2 separate regions of the Homo sapiens genome follow, and region 1 is linked to region 2. Evidence: promoter capture Hi-C in human tissues and cell types (Jung and others, 2019). All regions are on one chromosome and are shown on one strand. Each heading gives the region's core, a stretch centred on a gene start or on the middle of the fragment in contact. The rest is flanking DNA. Distances are from core to core; before and after follow the strand shown. Region 1 overlaps WNT3A (Wnt family member 3A). Region 2 holds the start of WNT3A (Wnt family member 3A).

The links. Contacts are between HindIII fragments. The study calls those that stand out against the background at their distance.
Region 1: a fragment that was not itself captured here is called in contact with the fragment with the promoter of WNT3A in region 2 in 2 of the 25 tissues and cell types used here (H1 embryonic stem cells and pancreas).

What each region holds. Positions count from the first base shown.
Region 1 is chr1:228,048,850-228,055,133 of GRCh38, reverse strand. WNT3A (Wnt family member 3A) reads right to left here. Exons shown (of 4, transcript NM_033131.4): 3 at 4,213-4,478. Among named protein-coding and RNA genes, the nearest start is that of LINC02809, 25 kb to the left of the region's middle. RefSeq lists a silencer at 5,964-6,170. The HindIII fragment of the contact is 5,382 bases long and covers 353-5,734 here.
Region 2 is chr1:228,004,759-228,011,234 of GRCh38, reverse strand. WNT3A (Wnt family member 3A) reads right to left here and starts at 4,237. Exons shown (of 4, transcript NM_033131.4): 1 at 4,036-4,237. The coding sequence starts at 4,106. The HindIII fragment of the contact is 17,022 bases long and covers 1-6,376 here.

The DNA of each region.
Region 1 (6,284 bases), core at 1,794-4,293, 45 kb before region 2:
CCAGTTTCCAAAAAAAAAACTGCCCAGGCTGGAGTGTAATGGTGCACTCTCAGCTCACCACAACCTCCGCCTCCTGGATTCAAGTGATTCTCCTGGCTCAGCCTCCCAAGTAGCTGGGATTACAGGCGTGCACTACCACGCCCGGCTAATTTTGTATTTTTAGTAGAGACGGGAATTCTCCATGTTGGTCAGGCTAGTCTCGAACTCGCCTCGGCCTCCCAAAGTGCTGGGATCACAGGTGCGAGCCACCGTGCCCAGCCTATTATATAATTTTTATAGTTTCTAGTTTCCTGATGCAATGTTCACACTTGTGTTTTAGCTTTGTGAACCTAAGTAAGCATTTTTCCCCTCAAAGTCTGTGTCTAATAATTCCATTGTCTGAATTCCCTGTGTACTTGTGTTTTTTTTTTTTTTTCTGGTTTAACTCACTGTGTCATCAGATCATGTGATAGATTATCTTTGATTGTGTGCTGGACATTGTGTTTTCTTTTTTTTTTTTTTTTTTTGAGACAGAGTCTCACTCTGTCGCCCAGGCTGGAGTGCAGTGGTGCGATCTTGGCTCACTGCAAGCTCCGCCTCCTGGGTTCACGCCATTCTCCTGCCTCGGCCTCCCAAGTAGCTGGGACTACAGGCACCTGCCACCACGCCTGGCTAATTTTTTTTGTTATTTTTTAGTAGAGACCGGGTTTCACCATGTTAGCCAGGATGGTTTCAATCTCCTGACCTCACGATCCGCCCACCTCGGCCTCCCAAAGTGCTGGGATTATAGGTGTGAGCCACCACGCCCAGCCAACATTGTGTTTTCTAAAAAATTATTATAGAAACATTTATAGGCTTAGAGGAGGGATATCATCCTTCTCCAAAGAGGATTTTGTCTGCTTTTTCCAGGTGTATGGGAGTACCAGCAATTTGGGATTACCTTAATCCAAGTTCAGGTTTTGAGAGATTTCTAGTCTGCCCATGTGAACAGGACAAGACTACTTCTGGCTTGGCTTTGCTCTTCAGGGTCACAGCCTACACTGAGGAAGGATTTACCAGAGATGGCACCCTTGGTGGGCCCCTTAGCTCTGTGAGTCTGCTGGAAATGCAGTGCAACCTCTGTAGTCTCTTCCAGGTCAGCAAATGGCCCCTAGACAAAAGCTACCCCAGGTACCAGACTTGGGATCTTCTCTTGGATCAGGGGCTGCTAATTCCTCACTAGATGGTCAGTTATTTGACACTTAAAAATCATTTTATGGAAGTATAATAGACATACAAAAATATATATGTGTCATAAGTGCAAAATATACAAAATTTTACAAATTACCTGCCCCAGAACACCAGTGTCTCAGACACCCCCATCCTCCTCTCTCTTTCCAGGACATAGGTTCTCACAGCATTTTCTTGATGACTCATAACATTGAGCACCTTTTGTATAGGTAGTGGAATTTCTATATTTTCTTTCATAACATGGCTTTTAATTTTTTGGCCAATTTTCCCATTGGTTTGTCTATCTTTTTTTTCTTAGTCTGCAGAGTTCTTTTCCTACTGTAGCTTCTCTACATTTGCTGCATATGTGAGTGTGGATGTATGTATGTGAATGTGTCCTCTATGGGTTGCCTTTTCAGTCCCATAGTGGTGTCTTTTTATGGATGAAAGTTCTTAATTTGAATATAGTCTATGTTATTCCACTTCTCTTTCAATGTGAGTGCTTTTTTGGACTGTTTAAGACACCTTTGCCTACTCTAAGGTCACAAAGATATTCTATATTTTCTTGTAAAAGTTTTATTGTTTTACCTGTCCCACTGGGATTTGTAATTGATTTTTACAGATGGTGTGAGGTAGCAAGCCAGGGTTATTTTTTTTCCATGTTGCTATCTGTCTTAGTCAATGCTGTATTGCTACAACGTAACACCTGAGACTGAGTAATTCATAAATGTATTCTTTCATGGTTTGGGAGGCTGGGAAATCTAAGATCAAGGTGCTGACAGGTTAGGGCTTGGTTTATCTGCTTCCAAGAGGGCACCCTGAATGAATGCCATGTCCTCCAGAAGGGAGGAACATCATGTCCTCATATGGCAGGAAAGTAATAGAAAGAGAGAGAGAGAGAGACCCTCTTCTGCAAGCCCTTTTACAGCAGCATTGGTCCCTTTATGAGGGCAAGGCCCTCATCACCTAAACACCTCTTATTAGGTCCCACCTCTCCAGACTGTTGCACTGGAGATCAAGCTTACAACATACGAATTTTGGGAGACACATTCAGACCATAGCACCACCCGGTTGACTGAGCACCATTTATTGAAAAGCCCATTTCTCCCATGGCACTGCACTGCCTCATCTATCATGAATTGGGTAATTATGGGGACTCCACACTTTTAACAGGGTGCTTTTTATAGTTCATCCTGCATCTGAAGTTGTCTTCTGCAGGAAGATTAGTCTGAGTTATCTAGTTCCTCACTGTTAAAAGGTGAATATCCCCTGTTCACTCGTCACCCCTCTGTGGTCCCCTGATTCTACAGCCAAGGTCAGCTGCCATCTTCATGTTGTTAAATCCCGTGGACGCCACTTGGTCCTTACGCCCGTCACTGCCCATCAGCCATCTTTCCTCCCTTGGCCATCCACTGATCTTCTGACCACATCCTTTCTAGCAAGCTGCTGTGGTCTGAATGTTTGTGTTCCTCAAAAATTCATGGGTTAAAATCTTTACCCTCGGCTGGGCATGGTGGCTCACACCTGTAATCACAGCACTTTGGGAGGCCGAGGTGGGTGGATCACTTGAGGCCAAAAGCTCAAGACCAGCCTGGCCAACATGGTGAAACCCTATCTCCACTAAAAATACAAAAATTAGCCAGGTGTGGTGGCATGCGCCTATAGTCCCAGCTACTCAGAAGGCTGAGGCAGGAGAATCGCTTGAACCCGGGACGTGGAGGCTGCAGTGAGCTGAGATGGTGCCACTGTATCCAGCAAGACCCTGTGTCCCCACCCCCCCAGAAAGAAATCTTTACCCTCAAGGTGACAGCATTAAGAGGTAGGGCCTTTAGAAGGTGATCAAGTCAAGTCATGAGGGTGGAGCATCGTGAATGGGATTCGTGCCTGATACGGTTTGGATCTGTGTTCCCTCCAAATTTCATGTTGAAGTGTAATCCCCAGTGTTGGGCGTGGGACCTGGTAGGAGGTGTTTGGGTTATGGGGGCAGATCCCTCATGAATGGCTTGTGCTGTCCTCATGATAATGAGTGAGTTCACACAAGATCTGTGCGTGGCGACCTCTCCCCCACTCTGTCTTCCTTGCTCCTGCTCTGGCCCATGTGACGTGCCTGCTACCACTCCACTTCTGCCATGTGTAAAATCTCCCTGAGGCCTCCCAAGAAGCTGAGCAGATGCTGTTACCAAGCTTGTGCAGCCTGCAGATCCATGAGCCAATTAAACCTCTTTTCTTCATAAATTACCCAGTCTCGGGTAGCAATGCAAGAATGGCCTAAAACAATGCCCTTATAAAAGTAACCCCAGAGCGATCCACACCCTGGGTGAGGACACAGAAGGCATCATCCATGAGGAGCAGGCCCTCACCGGACAAGGTATCTGCTAGTACCATGACCTTGGACTTCCCAGTCTCCAGAACTGTGAGTACTAAACTCCCATTGTTTATAAATTATCCAGTCTAAGGTATTTTGTTGTAGCAGCACAGACAGAATAAGACACAGGCTCACGAAGCTTTACACGGCTTGGTTTGGGTTGGCCTCTGCAGATCAAGATGCTCTTTGTTCCATTACACTCTGTGCTCTGCCCACCAAGTCGCTTGTTGTCTTTCACCTCCAGGCTGCCTGGGAGGCTCTCCCAGCCTCCCTCCCCCTAAATTACTGCCAGCTGTCCTTGACATCGGGTCACCTTGTGTGCCTGCATTTCCTCATTGCAGAATTCCTCCCCGTCTCTGTGGCTGCCTGGCTGTCTCCCTCCCTGGGCTCTGCCGGGGCTCCTGTTGACCAGGCCTTTGCCTCATCACTCCTTCTTGGCTACCCCAGTCCACAGGTGGGCTCGCCATCCCCAGGAGCGCACTGGATGCTGTGGTGTAGCTGGATGGTGCTAAGCTTCGCACACCCCAGGCAGGGGTCGAGAAGACCCTCAGCCTGGCCACCATCCTGCCTCACCGGGCCATATGCCCCAAGGAACCAGGGCACACACCCTGCTGAGGAGGCTCCTTTTTCCCAAGCACCCTTGCGGGCGGCGAACCTACCTGGCGCCCAGCCTCGTTGTTGTGGCGGTTCATGGCTGAGCGGGCATCTGGCCGGTTCTCCCGGGCGTCGGCGAACTCCCGAGACACCATCCCACCAAACTCGATGTCCTCGCTACAGCCACCCCACTTCCAGCCCTTGCCTGGTGAGCCCTGGTGGCGGCTGCTGCAGCCACAGATGGCGGCCGTGCCTTCTGCACATGAGCGTGTCACTGCAAAGGCCACACCGGCTGAGGCAATGGCGTGGACAAAGGCCGACTCCCTGGTAGCTGTAGAGAGAGGAGAGATGCAGGGTTAACAGGGCTCAGCTCAAAGGACCGCCTTGGGCAGGTCAGGGGTCTTAGCCCATTTGCATTGTTATAAAGGAACTCGTGAGGTTGGGTGGTGTATAAGGCAAAGAGGCTTACTTGGTTCACGGATCTACAGGCTACACAGAAGCATGGCTCCAGCAACTGCCTCTGGCAAGGGCCTCAGGCTGTTTCCACTTGTGGCAGAAGGGAAAGGGGGCGTAAAGGGGAACCAGTGTGTGCAAGAAATTACATGGTGACAGAAGTGAGAGAGGGGAGGTTGGTACCAGGCTCTTTTTAACAAGCAACTTTGGCTAAGTACAGTGGCTCATGCCTGTAATCCCAGCACTTTGAGAGGCACAGTAGGAGGACTGCTTGAGACCAGGACAGCCTTTTCAACATAGCAAGACCCCATCTCTACAAAAACTAAAAATATTAACTGGATGTGGCCCCAACTACTTGGGAGGCTGAGGCGGGAGGATCACTTGAGCCCAGGAAGTGGAGGCTGCAGTGAGCCAGGATAGCACCACTGCACTCCAGCCCTGTCTTAAAAAACATACAGCTGGCAAGGTGGCTTACATCTGTAATCCCAGCCCTTTGGGAGGCAGAGGTGGGAGGATTGCTTGAGCCCAGGAGTTTGAGACCAGCCTTGGCAATGTAGCAAGACCCCATCTCTACAAAAAAATGTTAAAATTAGCAAGGTGCAGTGGTGTGTGCATGTAGTCCCAGCTATTCAGGAAGCGGAGGTGGGAGGATTGCTAGAGCCCAGGAGTTTGAGGCTGCAGTGAGCTATAGTCACACTCCAGCATGGGTGATAGAGCAAGACCCTGTCTTTAAAAAAAAGGCACAAGGAAGGCCAGCATGCACCTGGAAAGATGGTCGACATCACCCATCCTGGGGATGTGCAAATCAAAAAACCCAATAAGGGGCCGCCTCACACCTACGGGGATGGCTGCAATCAAAGAGTCAAAGAGTAGCAAGTGTTGGCAAGGATGTGGAGAAATCAGACCCTGACCCTTGTTCACAGCTGGATGGAGGGGAAAGGTGCAGTCCCCTTGGGAGGCACTTTGGCAGTGTCTTCAAGGGTAAACGTCCACCAGCCGTTAGGTTTGCCCCAGAGGAAACCCGTGTCTGTGCAAAGACTTGTAAGCAAATGTTCACACAAGCCACAAACTGGAAGTACCCCAATGTCCATTAACAGGGATGGTTAAAAAGCAGTGGCAAGTCTGTAACAGCATTTAATTTAGGAATAACAAGAAAAATAGCACAAAGGATCTCAAAATAATCATACAACTGAACGAAGGCAGGTAAAACCAGACAAGAGCTAATTCCTTCTGCTGCCCAGATAGCCTGGGGTGCAGACCCCAGAGTGTGGCTCCACCCCACACACCGCCCACCTCTGCTGTGCCACTTGCCATTGCCTTCCTCCACCCCAAGCACCGACACTTGCATGGCTCAGCGGTACAGCTGCCTCTTCTGGAATCTTCTCAACACCAGTGACTTCCAGTGCCCGCCTCCCCAGGGCCAGCCCCAGTGCCCCAAATGCCCCTGCCTCCAGCTTGGAAGGCTGCAGGGTGTCTGCCGCTGCTGACATTGGAGCTGCCTGGGTCCTTGTACACAGCTTCCTTCTTCCCCAAATGGGGAAATAGAGGCCAAGTTGGGGAAGTGGCATTGCTTGTGCAGAAGGGTGGTAGGGGAGGGCTGGAATTTAGGAGAAAGCTCTGGAGGCTAGGATCAGAGGGATGGGAATGAGCGGTGGTGTGGGCTTTGCAGAGGCCAGGACCCCAG
Region 2 (6,476 bases), core at 2,988-5,487:
ACACCCATGCTGCAGCCACCTGCCCACACACCACACACGTATGCCTGACCCATCATTCCAGCCGAGCTCCTTCTCTCCTGCACCCTTTCCTGGCTCCTGCCTCTCTAAGCTGCCTCTTCACCCGACCCCTCTTCCAGTCAGGCTGTCTCCCCACCACAATGAGGCCCACCAGGACTGAGGACACAGGGGCGAAGTGCCTGGCGGTGGTGCAGTGCAGACACTGGCTGAGCAGGGCCTCCAAGTGTGCTGGCCCTCCAGCCCATGAAGGGCTAGGAGGAGGGGCTGAGCTCTTGTGCCCAGGAGGTTGTTTGCACCCATGAGTGTGTAGGAGAGTGGGGGCCTGAAAGGGCCTACATCTTCTGTTGAGGGCTGTGTGAGGTGCCCTATAAAAATGGAGGTCATGATGTGTTTCTGTCATAGTGACAAGCTCGAGGCCCAGAGGGATGTGAGGGAGACCCTGGAGGGAGCATGAGCGAGGCTGTGGAGCAGGCCAGGGGCAGGCAAAAGGCTGGACACAGCCCACACTGCACTTCGCTGGGACAACTGGGGTGGCCATCTGCAAGCAGCCAGGCCTCTGTGCTTGGGATCCCATAGTCCAGCAGGAGCTGGTGACGGCCGGGCAGAAGGAACGGCCTGAGAGGGAGAGCAGGGCTGGGTAAGGGGTGGAGCTTGCTGTGCTCCACTAGGCAGCGACGGTGGCTATGGCCAGGCCTGGCAGCAACTCCAGGTGGCTGGGAGGGTGTGGGTCCCAGGGGAGGGCCAGGACTGAGAACGGAAGCAGGAGGTGGCCGTGGCGGGAGTGCCACAGCCCAGTCTGGTAAAGGCAGCAGAGGGACTTGAAAGATGAACAAAATCCAGTTGCAAGCCCTGAAGTGGGCTTGGACCCTGGGGAGGCGGTGGCGGGAGGCACAGGCCCACCTCTAGGGTCCTGGTGGGGTCCCTGGGGAGATGACAAGATTCCGTTAACCCAGACATGGGAAGAAGGGAGAGGTGCTCAGAGTGCCCTGGAGTGCGGGTGTGCCTGGGGATTGTTCTCAGATGGAGCCATGGTCTCCTTGCAGCGCAGCTGCCCTGTCCTCTGTCCATGTGGGCTCTTCCAAGAATTCTTGTTCCTGAGAACTCAGCTTAGAAGGGGCGTGCTGGGAGGCTGGGGCCACTAGGTTCCTGCCGTCTGTGGCCTCATGGGACGCAGGTGGGCAGATGCATATGCATTGGTCTGGTCTCCTGCCTGTCTCCTCTCTGTCACTGGATGAGCTCAGAATGGATGCCCCTGGACATCTGTGCAGCTCTGGGCCATTCAGTGTTAGGCTAGGCCCGTCTCTCTGCATTTCAGACCCGCTCAGCCTTGGGACCACTGGCATCTGCTGCGTGGGTATAAGACACCTCTGGGCCACCCAGCCCTGGGGAGGCAGGTGGCCCTTCACACTCTCACAGGGCTGCTGGCCACAGGGACACCTTTGCCTCTCCCTCTGCCAACTTCAAAAGCCTAATTACCCTGATTTGGGCTGTTTCCTGGTTTGTTTCTCCAGGTGAGGAGATTCCCCTTCACTTTCACTTTCATGTGCCGGTGATGGTGGAGGGGGGAGAATCAAGGGGCCAGCGGCTTCATGTTAGGGAGGGGCTGGGGGCACAGGTGAGGAGTTACAGGGAGGCCCCCCACCCCAGCCTGCTCTGTTCCACTGGGGCTCACCAGGAGCCCACCTGGCAGGGGCCAAGGTCCCCTCCTCCCCTGGTGATGCTTAATCTGGGGTGGATGCGGGGAGGCAGGAGAAAGGAGGAGATGCTCTACTGGGTAGAAGACCAGAGAAAGAGAGAGAATCTTCCCCGGCTATTAAGGCTATTAAACTGTAGGATGCCAGCGGCAGGGGTCCAGCAGCAGGGGTCCTGCAGCACTGCGTCCTTCTGTGAGTCTTCTTCCCTATGCTGCCGGGGTGCTGCTCATGCCTGGGGGAAGCCATGTCTTTGCTCCAGCCCGAGCAGCCTGCCTGGGAGCAGAGAGGGGATCAAGAAGGGGGCAGACTTGTCCCCAGGGAGCCAGCCTCCCCCAAGGGGAGGCTGCTTCTCAGGAAGCAGAGAATCCCCAAGTGTGAGAACCCTACTGAGAACAAAGTGGTGGTGGGGATGGGGGAGGGGTCCTCACCACCCACCCCGGTCAGTGTCAGGTGGGGTTCTATGCCCCGCTTCCCTGTGTGGCCAAAGGGCTGTCCTGGACTCTTGATAGGAGGGTGCGGAGGGTACAGGGACTTCACTTCTCTGCTCCTCCTGGCTCCCCTGCAGAATGCCTGACTGTCCCCGAGGGTGTCTCAGGGTCCATTCAGGGTAGAACACAGGGGGCCCAGGTGAAAAGGAGGTATACATGCATATGAGGTGGATGGGGACCGAGGCTAGGAACCCTCAGGGCCGACAAGACAAAGATCCTAGGGCGCGGGGTTGCCAGGAGGCTGGCGACATTTATGGGAAGGGCGCGGGGCGAAGGAGCTTCCTTTTGCGCTCAGGAACGCGGCGGCGGGTTCTAATTAGAAGCCTGGTGCGTAAGCCGGCAGCCCTCGGGGCTCTCTCGGACGGACGCGCTGCCCCTGGCTCCCTGCGGCCGTCTGGACGCGCGTCAGTATCCCCGCACCCCAAGGCGAGCCCCGAGCCTGACCCTCAGGTGGGCCACTGGGCGCAGCAGGTGCCGCACGGGAAATGGGGCACGCGGAAATAGGGGCGCGCGGGGGTCCCCGAAGCGCGTCCCCGCGGCCTCGTGGCCTCTTCCAGGCCCTTCAGCTGCCTAGGGCTGCCCCTTCCCCTCCCCGCTGCTCCTGGCCCGGCGCCCCTACCGCGGGAGCCCCCGCTCCTGAACCATCTCGAAGAGAAAAATTATTATCGGATTAGATGTACCTCGGCTCGCTGGGTCTCCCCCCTTCCCCTCGGCGTAATTATTATAATTCCAGGCTGCCGTCGGAGAAGGATGGGGGGGAGTGTGCATGCTTGTGGGGAGGCTTCTCTCCAACTGTGGGTCCTACCAGCGCTGCGCCCGGCCCTGCGCGCCCACATTCCTCCCACTTGTGTTCCTCAATCTTGGGCATCTCAGAGCGCCCTTAATTCGGAACTGGGGTGATCCTTGCTTGGTGAGGGCTCTGAGGGATCACAAGCCCTGGCGAAAGTGTGGCCACCGTTCCCCCTCCCACAGGATATGTGCAGTGGAGGTGGGAGGCCTGAGAGAGACCTTTCGGGACCCTTCCTTTGGTTTATCTGCACTTCCATCGCCAGGCTGGGGAGGGTCTCACGGAACGCGCCTTTTCTGGTGTGGAGGGCGCAGCACAGCGCTTTCTGATTGAGGGTCCTGGAGCCCCTCACACCCCGTGCTTAACTCACCCTTAACTCTCTCTACAGCAGCCCCTCATTGCCAGGTGGACCCATGCGGAGGGCTCGCAGAGAGGGCCCCTGGAAACCCCCGTGCCCGGACTGCGGCGGGGAGGCGCGCGGGGCCCAGGGCCGGCCCCCAGTGCGCCCCGCCGCCGGCTCTGCGCCACTCCCCGCCGGGTCCCAGCTTTCTTTACGTAACCACGCTGCTCCGAGCTGTTCAGTCTTGTCTCATCGACTTTGTTTTAAAACGTGTGTGTGTGTTTGTGTGTAAGATACGGTTTTTGAGGAAAGTCTCCGGCGAATTCTCTCTCGCTGGCCCTCTTCCCTCGCCTGTCCCCTGGCCTCGAGCTGCCTGTCCCCTCGGTGACCGTGCGTGCCGACCTTCTTTCAGCCTCTCCCCAGCCCACTGCTCGCCCTGTCCGACGCCAGGGGCAGCTAGGACCTCCGCAACCTCCCCTACTCCCCCGCTCGGGAATCAATGTCTCCGGAAACTCCGCCACCCACGCGTCCCAGCGGCCTGAACAGGTCCAAAGTGGCCGTCAAGGAAAACCAACCGCCCGCGGCCCGCACGCGGGGCTGGAGCAGAAGGGCGCGGGCTCGGGCCACCGCGGGGTCCCTGCCCGAGGGGACCGTCTGCTGCGGGCGCGGCGCACAGGGGCAGGGGCGAACGCGAGGAGGCTCACTCACCACCAGATCGGGTAGCTGCCCAGAGCCTGCTTCAGGCTGCAGAGGAGTAAGAAGTATCCGAGTGGGGCCATCGCCGCGCGAGAGGGCGCGGAGGGCCGGGAGTCCGCCCCGAGAGCGTGAGCGCCGGGGGGGGCCGGGCCCTGGGAGCTGGCGCGGCGGCGTCGCTGGGCCCTCCTGCGGCCGCGGGTGCGCGGGTGTGCGCGGGCTCCGAGGGCGGCGCTGCGCCAGGTGGGCCGGCGGCCGGGCTGCGGGCCGAGGCCCGGGGCGGCGCGGGGCGGCGGGGGCGGGGCAGCGCCGCGGGGGGCGCCCGCCGGGGCCGGGGCCCGGGCGGGGCAGGCAGGGGCAGGCGGGGCCACGGGAGCCCGAACCGCGGCGGCGGCGTTGGCCCCCGCCTGCTGCCGTGGGTGTCGGTGTGTCTGAGGACGTGCTGGTGTGCGGGCCCCCAGGTGTGCGCGGCGCGCTGGGGTGCGCCAGATGGGCAGGCGGCCGGCCCGGGGCCGCGCGATCCGCAGGCGCCCTCCTGGAGCTCCCGGGCCGCGTCCTGGGTTTCCAGCCCCGCGCGCCCTGCGCTCACGGTGGGACCCGCAGTCCCCCTCTCGCTCCTGGTCTGTGGCGAGCTCCGTCTCTTGCCCCCGAGGTGGCTGGGCTAGGGCTCCCCTTCATCCATCAACCTTCTCGGGGCGGGGGTTTGGGGAGGGAGCGGACGGTTGTCGGGTGCACGTCCTTTGGCCCCGTCTGCCTGCGGCCGGACTCCTTCCGCTGAGACCAGAGCTGCCTGCGCCTTCGGCGGATAGAAAGGGTCCGGGATGGGTGCAGCCTGCAATGGGGACAGCGGCCAGGTGGACCTCCAAGGTGCAGCCACGCGTCTGTGGGTCACAGCTGGGGACGAGTGGGACTCTCTCTGTGGCGCAGGGATTGACCCCTCCATTTTTCTCCCCATCACTCCACCAGGGAAGAGAACAGTGGAAGCCCCTGACGCGATGGGACGGTGGGGAAGCGCAGTGCTGCCCCCAGGTTCTGGGACCACCAACCTCCAGGTCTGCCCAGAGCTATGCAGCCTGTTCCGACAGAGGGATTTCTGACTGTTTAGTTAAGCTTTAGGAGTTTGCTGATGGAGAGGGGAAGACCTGAGAGGGAAAGTGACTTGCCCAAGGTCACCCAGTGACCAGTCAACTCTCCAGCTCCCAGTCATTTGCATATCCATGTGTTGCCCCGGGAGCCGCCTGGGGAGATTGTAATTTGCAGAGGGGAAGTGTCCCCAGCCTCCCCCGGGGGACCTGATAACTGGGATGGTTAAGAGGCACTCTCCCATCGCGGCTGGTCCTCCTGCAGTCACACTGTGACCTAAGCTCAGCAGGAATCTTGGTTACCGCGTTGGAATTGAGGAAGGAGGCTCCGGGAGCTTCTGAGAGCTCCAAGCAACTCCAGACTCATCCGTGGTGTGTTCTCTGGGGATACTGCACTGCCCAGCCTGTGGGCTAGGCCTCCTGTGCGGCTGCAGAGTTGCGGGAGGGAGGTGCATGGAGAGGCAGGGATGGGCATGTGGCCGCTTCTGTGCAGCTTCTCAGGGAGGGGGTGGCTGAGATGTCCCCAGGTGTGTCACTGGCTGGCTGATGGAGGCAGCTGCTTCCCACAGTGTGCCCCACTCACAACTTGGTTCTGCGTTTGCAGAGGGAGCCTGTGGTCCTGTGGACACCGGCCCTAGGGGTCACCTGGTGACTATGTCAGGAGTCCTGAATTCAGAGTGACAGCCTTTCTCTTTGAAAAAAAGTTCCCTTTGCTCCTCACTACCTTGGGAATCCAGTTTCCGCTACGCATGCCCGGCCGCCCACCCGCTTCTCCCAGGCACTGCGGGGCCCCCACCCTCAGAGGGAAAGAGGGAAGAGCTCTGGAATGAAGCGGCGGTGGGGTCAGGGAGGGGGAGGGGAGGAGCGTGTTTGTGCTCCTCTGGACTTGGCCTTGCAGCAAAAATCCCACCCAATTGTGGTACTGGGGAAAACCTGGGCTGCAGGTGGGGTGGGCGCCTGAGCCCAGCCTGAGGCACGCAGACTCTTGTTACCCCCACCTCCCCAGAAATGAGGCTCGGGGATTAGAGCCCCCTAGAGGATGCCAGCTCTGCCCACCGACAGGATGGGCCTCGTGACCTCACTGAAGGGGGCAGGTGAGCGCAGCCTGCTCAGTCCTGCCCTCTTGCCCCTTGGTTTCCCAAGCCCCTCCTCCTGGCTGCTTTCTTCTCCCCCATCAGGCCCCATCCTCTGCCCGTGCCACCTGGGTAGTACACACACTGAGATCCGGCCGCTTCCCAGGCTGCAGAAGATGAAGGGAGGAGCAGACTCCGAGGCCCCAGGCAGGAGCTCAGCCTGCCCAGGCCAGGCTCTCAAGCGAGGGCTCCTGTTTCTGAAGACTCTGGATACCAGGGAGCCAGGGTAGGCTGCATGGAG